4 separate regions of the Homo sapiens genome follow, and all the other regions are linked to region 3. The links are contacts of gene promoters, found by promoter capture Hi-C in human tissues and cell types (Jung and others, 2019). All regions are on one chromosome and are shown on one strand. Each heading gives the region's core, a stretch centred on a gene start or on the middle of the fragment in contact. The rest is flanking DNA. Distances are from core to core; before and after follow the strand shown. Region 1 has its middle 270 kb from the start of MIR3977. Region 2 holds the start of LOC124901020 (a long non-coding RNA gene). Region 3 holds the start of VCAN (versican). Region 4 has its middle 270 kb from the start of RPS23.

The links. The method cuts DNA at HindIII sites, captures the fragments that hold promoters and counts their contacts. A contact is called where the count stands out against the background at its distance.
Region 1: a fragment that was not itself captured here is called in contact with the fragment with the promoter of VCAN in region 3 in 2 of the 25 tissues and cell types used here (dorsolateral prefrontal cortex and lymphoblastoid cells).
Region 2: a contact is called between a fragment that was not itself captured here and the fragment with the promoter of VCAN in region 3, in 1 of the 25 tissues and cell types used here (heart right ventricle).
Region 4: a contact is called between a fragment that was not itself captured here and the fragment with the promoter of VCAN in region 3, in 1 of the 25 tissues and cell types used here (dorsolateral prefrontal cortex).

Annotation. Positions count from the first base shown.
Region 1 is chr5:82,565,025-82,567,724 of GRCh38, forward strand. No RefSeq gene overlaps it. Among named protein-coding and RNA genes, the nearest start is that of MIR3977, 270 kb to the right of the region's middle. The HindIII fragment of the contact is 5,226 bases long and covers 1-2,700 here.
Region 2 is chr5:82,814,305-82,817,004 of GRCh38, forward strand. It overlaps LOC124901020 (a long non-coding RNA gene), which reads right to left and starts at 2,690. Exons shown (of 2, transcript XR_007058846.1): 1 at 2,486-2,690. The HindIII fragment of the contact is 5,543 bases long and covers 1-2,700 here.
Region 3 is chr5:83,470,384-83,473,083 of GRCh38, forward strand. VCAN (versican) reads left to right here and starts at 1,361. Exons shown (of 15, transcript NM_004385.5): 1 at 1,361-1,640. RefSeq lists an enhancer at 1,790-2,662. The HindIII fragment of the contact is 7,638 bases long and covers 1-2,700 here.
Region 4 is chr5:82,546,747-82,549,446 of GRCh38, forward strand. No RefSeq gene overlaps it. Among named protein-coding and RNA genes, the nearest start is that of RPS23, 270 kb to the left of the region's middle. The HindIII fragment of the contact is 3,180 bases long and covers 1-2,700 here.

The DNA.
Region 1 (2,700 bases), core at 91-2,590, 910 kb before region 3:
CATGATCTACAGCTGGCACTCAAGTGGGAGAGGAGCCCACATTTCAGAGCATTGAAAGGGAGCATGGCTACAACTCTAAGGAAATATAAGGGAGCTACGGGATTGAGCAAGAGCCTACCAACTGACCTCTATGACTAAGTGCCATTAACTAATTCACACTCCAAAGCTTTAACACCAAAAATACCTCACTAATATACTCCCCTGTAAAACCTATGACAAGTCAGCTACAAATAAAGACACAAAGCCTGCACAAAGCCTCAGCCCTGTGAAACCATCCAGAAAAGAACTATATTGACTGTACTCAATCTACACTGCAATTAAAGGAACACCCACATGCAGAGATAAGAAAGAACCAGTGCAAGAACTGGCAACTTAAATAACGAGAGTATCTTATGTCCTCAAAATGATCATATTAGTTCTCCAACAAGGTTTCTTAACCAGGCTAAATTGGCTGAAATGACAGAAATAAAATTTAGACTATGAATAGGAACGAAGATCATCAAGATTCAGGAGGATGGCAAAATCCAATCCAAAGAAATTAAGAATGACAAAATGATACAGGAGCTGATAGATGAAATGGCGAGTATGAAAAAAGAACTTAACTGATCTGACAGAGCTAAAACATACACTACAAGAATTTCACAATGCAATGGCAAGTATTAACAGCAGAATAGAAAAAGCCAAGGAAAGAATCTTGGAACCCAAAGGCTGACTCTCTGAAATAAGACAGTCGGGCAAAAATAAAGAAAAAAAGAATAGAAAGAAATGAGCAGAAGCTCCAAGAAATATGAGATTATGTAAAAAGGCCAAATCTATGTAACATTGGCATCCCTGAAAGGGATGGGAAGCAAGCAAATAACTTGAAAAATATGTTTCAGGATATCATTGATGAAAACTTCTGTAACCTTGCTAGAGAGGACAACAGTCAAATTCAGGAAATATGAAGAATCCCTGCAAGATTCTACACAAGAAGATTATCCTCAAGACATATAATCATCAGATTTTCCAAGGCTGAAATGAAAGAAAGAATGTTAAAGGCAGCTAGAAAGAAAGGGCAGATCACCAACAAAGGGAACTCCATCAAGCTAATGGCAGACTGCTCAGCAGAAACCCTACAAGCCAGAAGAGACTGGGGGCTTATATTCAACATTTCTAAAGAAAAAATCTTTAAGCAACATGCCTAAAGAAAAAATCTTTAACCAAGAATTTCATATCCCGCCAAACTAAGCTTCCTAAGCAAAGGAGAAATAAGATCCTTTTCAGATAAGCAAATGCTGAGACAGTTCATTACCACCAGACCAACTTTATAAGAGATCTTGAAATAAGCACTAAGTATGGAAAGGAAAGGCTGTTACCAGCCACTACTAAAACACACTTAAGACACTATAAAGGAACCATACAAACAAGCTGGCATAATAACCAGCTAACAACACAATGACAGGATCAAATCTACACACATCAATACTAACCTTGAATGTAAAGAAGCTAAATGCCCCATTTAAAAGGTGCGGATAAGCTGGATAAAAGAGGAAGACCAAATGGTGTGCTGTCCTCAAGGGATCCATCTCACATGCAATGATACACATAGGCTCAAAATAAAGGGATGGAGGAAAATCTATCAAGCAAATGGGAATCAGAAAAAAGCAGGGATTGCAACCCTAATTTCAGACAAAACAGACTTTAAACCAACAAAGATCAGAAAAGACAAAGAAGGGTATTACACAATGGTAAAGAGTTCAATTCAACAAGACCTAACTATCCTAAATATACATGCACCCAACACGGAAGCATCTGGATTCATAAAGCAAGTTCTTAGAGACCTAGAAAGAGCTTAGACTCTCACACAATAATAGTGGGAGATATCAATACTCAACTGACCGTATTACACAGATCATCAAGGCAGAAAATTAACAGATATTCAGAACCTGAACTCAACATTAGAGCAAATGGATCTGATAGACCTCTACAGAATGCTTCACTCAGCAACCACAGAATATACATGTTTCTAATTGCCACATGGCACATAACTCAAATAAACCACACAATTAGACATAAAATGCTTCTCAGCAAATGCAGATGAACCTAAATTATACCAAACACACTCTTGGAACACAGCACAATAAAAATAGAAGTCAAGACTAAAAAAATTCCTCAAAACCATGCAATTACATGGAAATTAAACAATATGCTCCTGAATGTCTTTGGGGCAAATAATATAATTAAGGCAGACATCAAGAAATTCTTTGAAACTAACGAGAACAAAGATACAGCATACCAGAATATCTGGGGCACAGGTAAAGTAGTGTTAAGAGGGAAATTTATAGCTCTAAATACCCACATTGAAAAGTTAGAAAGATCTCAAATTAAAAACCTAACATCACACCTGAAAGATGAGAAGTAAAAGCAAATCAACCCCAAAGCTCACAGAAGATAAGACATAACCAAAATCAGAGCTGAACTGAAGGATATCGAGACACACACAAAAATTTAAAAGATCAACAAATCTAGGAGCTGGTGTTTTGAAAAAAACTAATAAGTTAGACCACTACCTAGACTAATACAGAAGAAAAGAGAGAAGTTTCAAATAAACACAATTATAAATGACAAAGGGGATGTTACCACTGACCCTACAGATATAAAAATAACCATCAGAAGCTACTAGAAACACCTCTATGCACACAAACTAAAAAACATAGAAGA
Region 2 (2,700 bases), core at 104-2,603, 660 kb before region 3:
CCAGGTCTTTATTTTCTCCACAGGCTCTCAGGCAAAGTCCCAAAAGTCCATCTTTGGGCTATTGATGAGTGTTACCAAGCTCCAGCTCCATTTTCTCAGAAAACTCAGGTCAGGAAGGTGTTTCTTCCTTTAATCTCTTCCTTAACTCCCAGGCTGTGGTCAGCATCTCATGCTCTCATTTTGCATGCTTTTGTTTTCTTTCCCCAATAATAATGCAATCTATTGAGTAGGAATGATGGCATTCTTCTCCCACAGCAACTAAAATGATGTTTGGATAGATCATTGGGTCTTGAAAAGTACATTTTCATTGTACTGGGCTGGATGGTTTCTTCTGAGCACTGTTTAATGGGTTTCACTGACTACTTCCCCTAGCCAGACACATAGAATGCAAATGGTTCTGTGGCCTGGTTGAATAAATGGATTTGTACTTCATTGTACTACTAGCGGCTCTTCACCTAAACAAAATTTCCATTTGGAAATGGGAATATCCCTCTCACTTATGTAAACACTACTTTCCCTTTCTTTTGATCAAGGACCTTCCTTCAACTTCAAAGTTTTTCATCTCCTCTGTACACATGATGCTTCCGGATTCTGAAGTCTTGTAAGTCAAAAATTCAATGCCTAAAAATTTTTCAATGTACCATCTTTCATAGACACAGAGTAACTATGCATCAGAACAAAAGCACAACTACTTATTTATATAATGGTACTTTGTATATAAGAATGAAAGGGAAGGCCAGGTGCAGTGGCTCAAAGCTGTAATCCCAGCACTTTAGGAGGCTGAGGTGGAAGGATTGCTTGAGGTCAGGAGTTCAAGACCAGCCTGGGAAATGTAGCAAGTCCCTGTCTCTAAAAAAAAAAAAAAGAAAAAGAAAAAAAAATAGAATAAAAGGGGAAAGATTTTTTGGAACTCAAGCTATTCATCCATTGAGAAGTCTCTGTACAAATTATCTGGTCTCCTTATTGTCAGGAAGCTCACAGAACCTTTCTTTATGTATTTGAGTATTACATATGCATTTATTTGAAGAAAATTCACAGGCTTTACAATGAGTTATAACACCACTTCCCAGTTCCTTCTCACTGTGGAACTGTTAGCAACCCATTTGGTCATTTTAGGTGCACTATTAGGTGCATTAGTATACCTTTGAGATAATCTCAGATCTACTGCTTATTAGTTGCATGACGTGGCCACATTATTTAAGGTCTTTGCTTCAGTTTCCAAATCTGTGAAACAGAAATAGCAATAGCAATCACCTATGGGTTATCAGGAGGATTAAATGAGTTACTACATGTAAGGCACAGAGAGCCTGGCACTTGGTATGAACTCATCAAATAGTAACTTTTTTTTTCTTCCAGATCTGGGGACATTCTCATGTGTCCCTCATGAATTTTGTTCCATTCCAACTGAGAGTAGTGGGAGGATGCCACTTCTTAATTCAGGGTCCCCATTGCTAAGTCTTCGGCCTTTTGTTATGTACTCGTTCAAAATACAGGCTTCAAGTGATGACTCTGTATTTCTATAATCTCCACTTAGACAGAGATTCCTAAGGACAGGAACTCGATCCTAAGGTTGTTTCTATGGCCCACCATGTTTAAGGCAGTGTCTCACATGGAGTAAGAGCTCCATATTTATTTTTGTTGATATTTTTTACTGTTCCTTCCTCTCTGGTTACCCAACACTGATTATGGCAGCATTCCACTCTTTCTCCTCTTCCACACCACGTGTAATTTGATCCAATAGAGGTTACAGAGCCTGTAAGGCATACTACAAGGGACTTACCAGTAACCAAATATGTGATCCTTACCAGAACTCTTATTGTTTAGATAGGAGAAAGAGCAGATAATTTTTTGGACAGATGTGTGTCCTGGGTTGTGGGCTGCTTGTGGGTTTCTCATGTGCTGGCAAGCTGATAAAATTGAAAGGCAATGAAAAAATTTGGACAAGCATTCCAGTGAAGCTAACACAAGATTTCTTGATTTTGACCAACTTTGGCTACATTATTAGGAAAAGATAGCCCATGAAGGTGTTTTCTATGGGAAACACTCTACTATAAGAAGATAACCAATGAAAATTTTTAATTCACTGAGCCAGACTTCTTTCCACATAGTCTCATGTGATTCAATTACAAAACACTTTTTTCGGCAGGGTGCGGTGGCTCACGCCTGTAATCCCAACACTTTGGGAGGCCGAGGTGGGTGGATCTCAAGGTCAGGAGTTCAAGACCAGCCTGGCTAACATGGTGAAACCCCGTCTCTACTAAGAATACAAAAATTAGCTGGGCATGGTGGCACGTGCCTGTAATCCCAGCTACTAGGGAGGCTGAGTCAGGAGAATTGCTTGAACCGGGACCCGGGCGGCGGAGGTAGCAGTGATTGAGATCTCGCCATTGCACTCCAGCCTAGGTTACAGAAAGAGACTCTGTCTCAAAAACAAAACAAAACGAAACAAAAACAAAAACAAAAACAAAAAACACTTTTCTCTTACCTGCTTACTGGCATCTTTGAATGCAGATTCAATAGTGAACTGGACTTACTCTCTTCAGAAGGTACTCCTACTGATGCTAGAAAATGCAGCCACAAAGGAAAAACATTGTAGAGGAATTTCACTCCAGCAGAAAGAAGCAACTCCCTCATTACCAGATTGTTGTTTTCAGTAATTCTGTGGAAAGTCCCTTCTCTTGTTCAGTCCCTTGCTTCTCC
Region 3 (2,700 bases), core at 111-2,610:
TCAAAGAAGTTGAGAGGAAAAATTGGCTTTCATCTTTAATCACTACTGTTTTGAGGTCCTATGTTTAATATAATTTTCTAAGTAGAGGCTTCAGAGAGAAGAGTTGTGAGGATACTTTCATATTTGTGTAGAAGGAAAAGTTTGCCATCCATTCTAGTATCCCTAGTGTTATACTGATGTGCACCTTGGATTTATTTTGTTCCTATTGTATAAACTCATACTTGACTTCAAAGAAAAGGAAAATCCAAAGTCCCTCTTTTCTAAGGGGACAGAAATCCTTTGTGTCAACTGTTTGACCCTTTTCTCTGTAAGGTCCTATTGGAAATCTTTTGTAACACAATGCAGGGGACTCTTCCATGTGTTGATGCTGTTTACACAGTGGGGTGGGCCTGACTGAAGAAAAAAAATCGCATATACGCATGAAAGATTATGGTCTTATTTCCGGAAAGCATGAAAGGTGATTGATACTTCCAAGAAGTCCCTGTTACTCAGGAAAATTATCAAATATTCTACTCAGAGATACTTGGAAAGACTGAAGGAAAGGAAGAACGAAGAAAGCAGAATCTAGACTTATGTGGGGAGAGATTTGTGGCAGAGGAAAAGTATTCTCTTTGAATCCGACAAGGGATTTGCCTGGGGGAATTTCCTGTCCAGCCTTTTATTACCAGGGTCTTTTGAAGCCGGGCTCCCCATTGGGCAGTTCCCTGGGAGTGCAGTGGGGAATTCTTACACTTTCCCTCTAGGTCCCCGAAGGATCTCGTTTTCTCAGTGTCTCTTTCAGGTTGGCAGGAGCCTTGAGCCTGACACTTCCCTTTGATGGGACAGGCAAGCTCTGTGGGCGCGTAAACACGCTGTAACCAAGTTCTTTGCTGATTTTACAGTTTTGTGTGCTCCCGAGAAGAAGTGATCGTACTCAATTGTCTATTGCTGGCCTGCCCCCTAAGAGCCTGGGGGCTCCTTTCCCCTAACCCAGAACTAGCTGCACGGGGGGCGGGGAAATGGGGGTGGGGAAGGAGTGGGAGGGCAGTGGTTTCCGCGAGCAGAGCGATGTTACTGAGTGAGTCCCTGAATGGGGAGCGCTGCTGTCCCCAAGCCGATTGGTACTTCTTGTCAGGAAGAAACGCCAAGAGGTGGGAGTGCCTGGGGAGGGAGGCAGGCGGTCCCTACCGCAGGCGCGGGGAGCTGCCTTTCCGCCCCTCCGCCTGCTTTCCAAGCCTGGACTCTTAGGAGTGGCTGAAGCTGCGGAGCGCTTTTGGAGCCTGTGAATGAACCCTCCTCCTCTCCCTCCTCCTTCTTCTCGCTGAGTCTCCTCCTCGGCTCTGACGGTACAGTGATATAATGATGATGGGTGTCACAACCCGCATTTGAACTTGCAGGCGAGCTGCCCCGAGCCTTTCTGGGGAAGAACTCCAGGCGTGCGGACGCAACAGCCGAGAACATTAGGTGTTGTGGACAGGAGCTGGGACCAAGATCTTCGGCCAGCCCCGCATCCTCCCGCATCTTCCAGCACCGTCCCGCACCCTCCGCATCCTTCCCCGGGCCACCACGCTTCCTATGTGACCCGCCTGGGCAACGCCGAACCCAGTCGCGCAGCGCTGCAGTGAATTTTCCCCCCAAACTGCAATAAGCCGCCTTCCAAGGTAATCACGTTTCTTTTGTTCCCCCCTTAAAAAACAAAAACAAAAAACTTATAGAAAAAAACCCGCGAGCTTAGAAAAAAGAAGCAATTGGTAGAAGGCTTTAATTAAGGCAAAGAGCTGTAAGGCGAAGTTAAGAAAATGTAGGCACTTAAAAAATGCAGGTAACTTTCATAAGGGCTTTTGGGGAGAGGCATACAGAGGGACCTTGGTGTTGAAAAAGATTCAGACAAAAGAAACCCAGGGTGGGGTGGGGGGTAAAATGACTAACGGAATTGGGGGAAGGGAGGGAATAAATTGTAAAGAAATCATAGAAAAGTGGTGGGTTCTTGAGCTGGAGAGAAGAGAGGGACCTTTGGCACTTTGATTTTTTTGTTGTTGTTGTTCTTAACACGCTCGAGGCAAAAGTTTGAATGGGGACTACCAAGACTTGCCACAGACAAGTCCCCGAAGCCGCCTTGGTGCAGGCCACCTGGTTTCCCAGCCCCTGGTGTGTGGTCAGTGCCTGGTGTTCCTGGAAAGCCACTCCCGGGCAGCTCCTGACAGTGCGACCCGGCGCCCAAGCAGCCTGGGACCTTGCGCGGACCTGACCCCTTCAGACCGCAGGCAGTCTGGGAGGAGGTCCGGCCGGGGGAGGTGCAGGATCCCCGCCGTGTCTCTTTGACGACTTGGGGACTGTCACGGTTCTCTCCCGGCGCCCCTGGGTTCTTTTGTCCTGCACGCGGTGCGAAGGGGCCAGCAGGGAAGGAGCAGAGGATGGGGGGTGGGGTTGTTGGAGCCCCGCGGAGGTCTGGGAGGCCCCTGGGCGGGAAAAGCCTGTTCTGAATCGGCAGGGATGTGCAACAATTTTTCTCACCCTGAAGAGTGAAATAGGGTCTGTCGCTCCCATCTCAACAAGCAAACCGGCACCCAGAGCGCACTGCAGACAAAGGTGGCTCGGGGACCCGAATCAGGGGCCTCTGGGTCAGTCCTCTCGCCCAGACTACAGGAGTCCTCCGTTTCCTTACATATTCCCCACCCTCTCCTAGTTCTCCGCTCTAGTTGAGCAACTTTACTGGCAGGT
Region 4 (2,700 bases), core at 7-2,506, 920 kb before region 3:
TCTACACATCAAACATGCATGGCAATAAAGATCATATTTTCCTGGAAAAACTTGATAAATTGATAACCGTATGCTTCCAAGAGGGCTCCAAAAATCATCTGCTAAAATTTATTACTAGGGTTGATACTGCTTATTTTGCTGGGTTCCTGTGAAAACTATGTGGGATAAAGTTTACAAAAACCTGTTAAATCTGGCATTGGAGATCAAGGAGATGCAGAAGAAGTAGTAAAGGAGACTGAACATGAACTTCCAGAGAGGCAGAGAAAACCAGGCTACAAAAGTGTTCAAGGGCAAGTGATAAACTTTGCTGGTCTAGTTTATAGCTCAACTAATGAACTAATAGTAAGGAGGAGGTTATTGATGACTTTCATAAAGGAAGCTTCAATAGATTGGTTAGGCAAAACTTTACTGAAATAAATTTAAGATAAAATGAGAGTAAATACATATAGGGGACAATTGGTATAGACAATACTTTCATAAACTTTTGCTATAAAGGAAAGAAGAGACATGGAGTGTAAGGTCATAAAGAGTTTTCTGTATTTTTTATGGTTCCCCAAATAATAGCCTGTTGGTATGAGAATGATTCAGTAGAAAAGAAAAAAAAATATTGATATGATTTATAGAAAAAATGATGCCTGGAGGAATGTTCTTGGTGGATGAGAGGAATGGGGTCTAGTGGACAGGTAGCAATGCTGACCATAGCTAGAACAGAAAAGAAGCCTCAACATTTTCACCCGTGACCTGGAGGAAGACATTAATAAATACTGCAAATTCGGTAAAAATAGCTGATATACTAGATAGTAACATTGAAATTTAAAATATCTGTCATGTATAAATATAAAATAGGGCCAGATAATCTGAAATATATGGGCTTATAAAAAGGTAAATGAAAATACAGATAATCAAAAGCATGTAACTTGGGAGGGAAATAATTAAGGTTAAATTGTTATAAGATTTGTGTATAGTTTTTCAAGGTGGATAAAAATTTTTATTAACTTCACAATGTTAAATTAATTATGAAAGCTAAAACTTTTAAGTGCAATCACTAAAACAAAAAAATAAAGTATGTATAATAGTCTATTACAGGAAAAATAATGGAATTCCAAATATAAAATAGCTTTATCTACTAGAATAGTAGATAAGGAAGAGTAACCAGATGTTCAAGGGTCTGAAAACAATGGTTAAAGGCATAAAATATATAGTTTTGGTAAGAAAAGTCATTTTCTTTGCAGGACTTAATGCTCAAATTATTTCTTCAATTTGATAGTCTTTAAATATTTTAAGATCTATCATAAGTAGGGGAAGGGATTAAATGTACTCCTTATTTAATGTTAGAAAGTTGAACAGGCTATGGATATGAGTTATGGGGAGGTAGTTTGGGGGTTTATTGTAAGAAAAATATTTATAAAAATGGAATGGCTACAGGTGAGATACTGAGCTCTCCTTCAGAGGTCATAGGATCATCTATCTGTCAGGAAATTTTGATATGGGTTACTGTAGCAAAAGTTGGACTAAATGAACTGAATAAACCCTGTGCCAACTCAAAGATTTTAAAATAATAGTAATGATTTAAAAAAATGTTCTAATCACCTTATAGACATTACTTTATTCAACCTTTGCATCAACATCATCAGATAAGTATTATTCCTGTTTTTGAAGATGTTAAATTTAGAGGTTTAAGTGCCTTGTTGAGGATGTGCAGCTTGTGTGGGGATAGAAATCCAGGAATGCCTCATTCTAAAGTGGGAGACTTTTCATTATGCCTCACGGAATCCCAGAATGAGAGTCATCGACTCATTTCTAATCTTGCCAAATTCCCGCAAAGAAGTCCTTTCTGTCTCATAATAGTGGTGTAAAATATCATAAGCCAAAATCAGCAAAGGTAGATATATATATATATACATACACACATACACACATATATATGATATATACATGTATTATATGTACATATATTTCATGCATACACACACACAATTTCAGTAAAGACTTTGCTCCTTCTTCTTTTCCAAAAACCTAGAACCTAAAAGAAGCCTTCTTCATGCATAAAAGTAAATTTCTCCAAATGAATTTTGGCAGTAATTTTTTAAGAACTAATTGTTTCCAGTATACAAAGTGAATCTTTATTAATTTTTATGTAATTTCTCTTCTTTTGTATTTGGTCCATAGATAATTGTTCTTTTTTTCTTTTTTTGCATTTGATTCTTTTATAAAGTCTGATGGTGTTGGATATTCTTATACAAATTCTGATAATAAACCTTAATATTGATTTGTCTAATAGGAGAGGCACAGCTTGAACATACTACTACTGAATGAAAATAAGCGTAACTCGGAAGATTTCTTTTAGTAAATCAGTTGGTGTATAGTGACATTTCAGAGGGAAGTGGATAGAAGATGCATGGATAAAAATTATTTTATGCAAAATAAAAATTGAACATATCTCTACTCTGAATTTGCACTAACTTAAAACTCTAAAGACTACTAAATGCTAAAAGGATTCATTGTGGTCCTGAACTTGGTGGACAGAAATGTGACATTCTGATATTCTGACTTGTGATGCACTACTTCCAGTGTATTTTCTACAAACTTAGCTTGATGGAACTTTCCTGGGAGCAAATTTTCTAGTGAGATTTCCAAGCCAAATTTGATGGCATTTGGTTGAATTGGATGAGCTTCAAAGTAAACACGCCAAATCTGAAT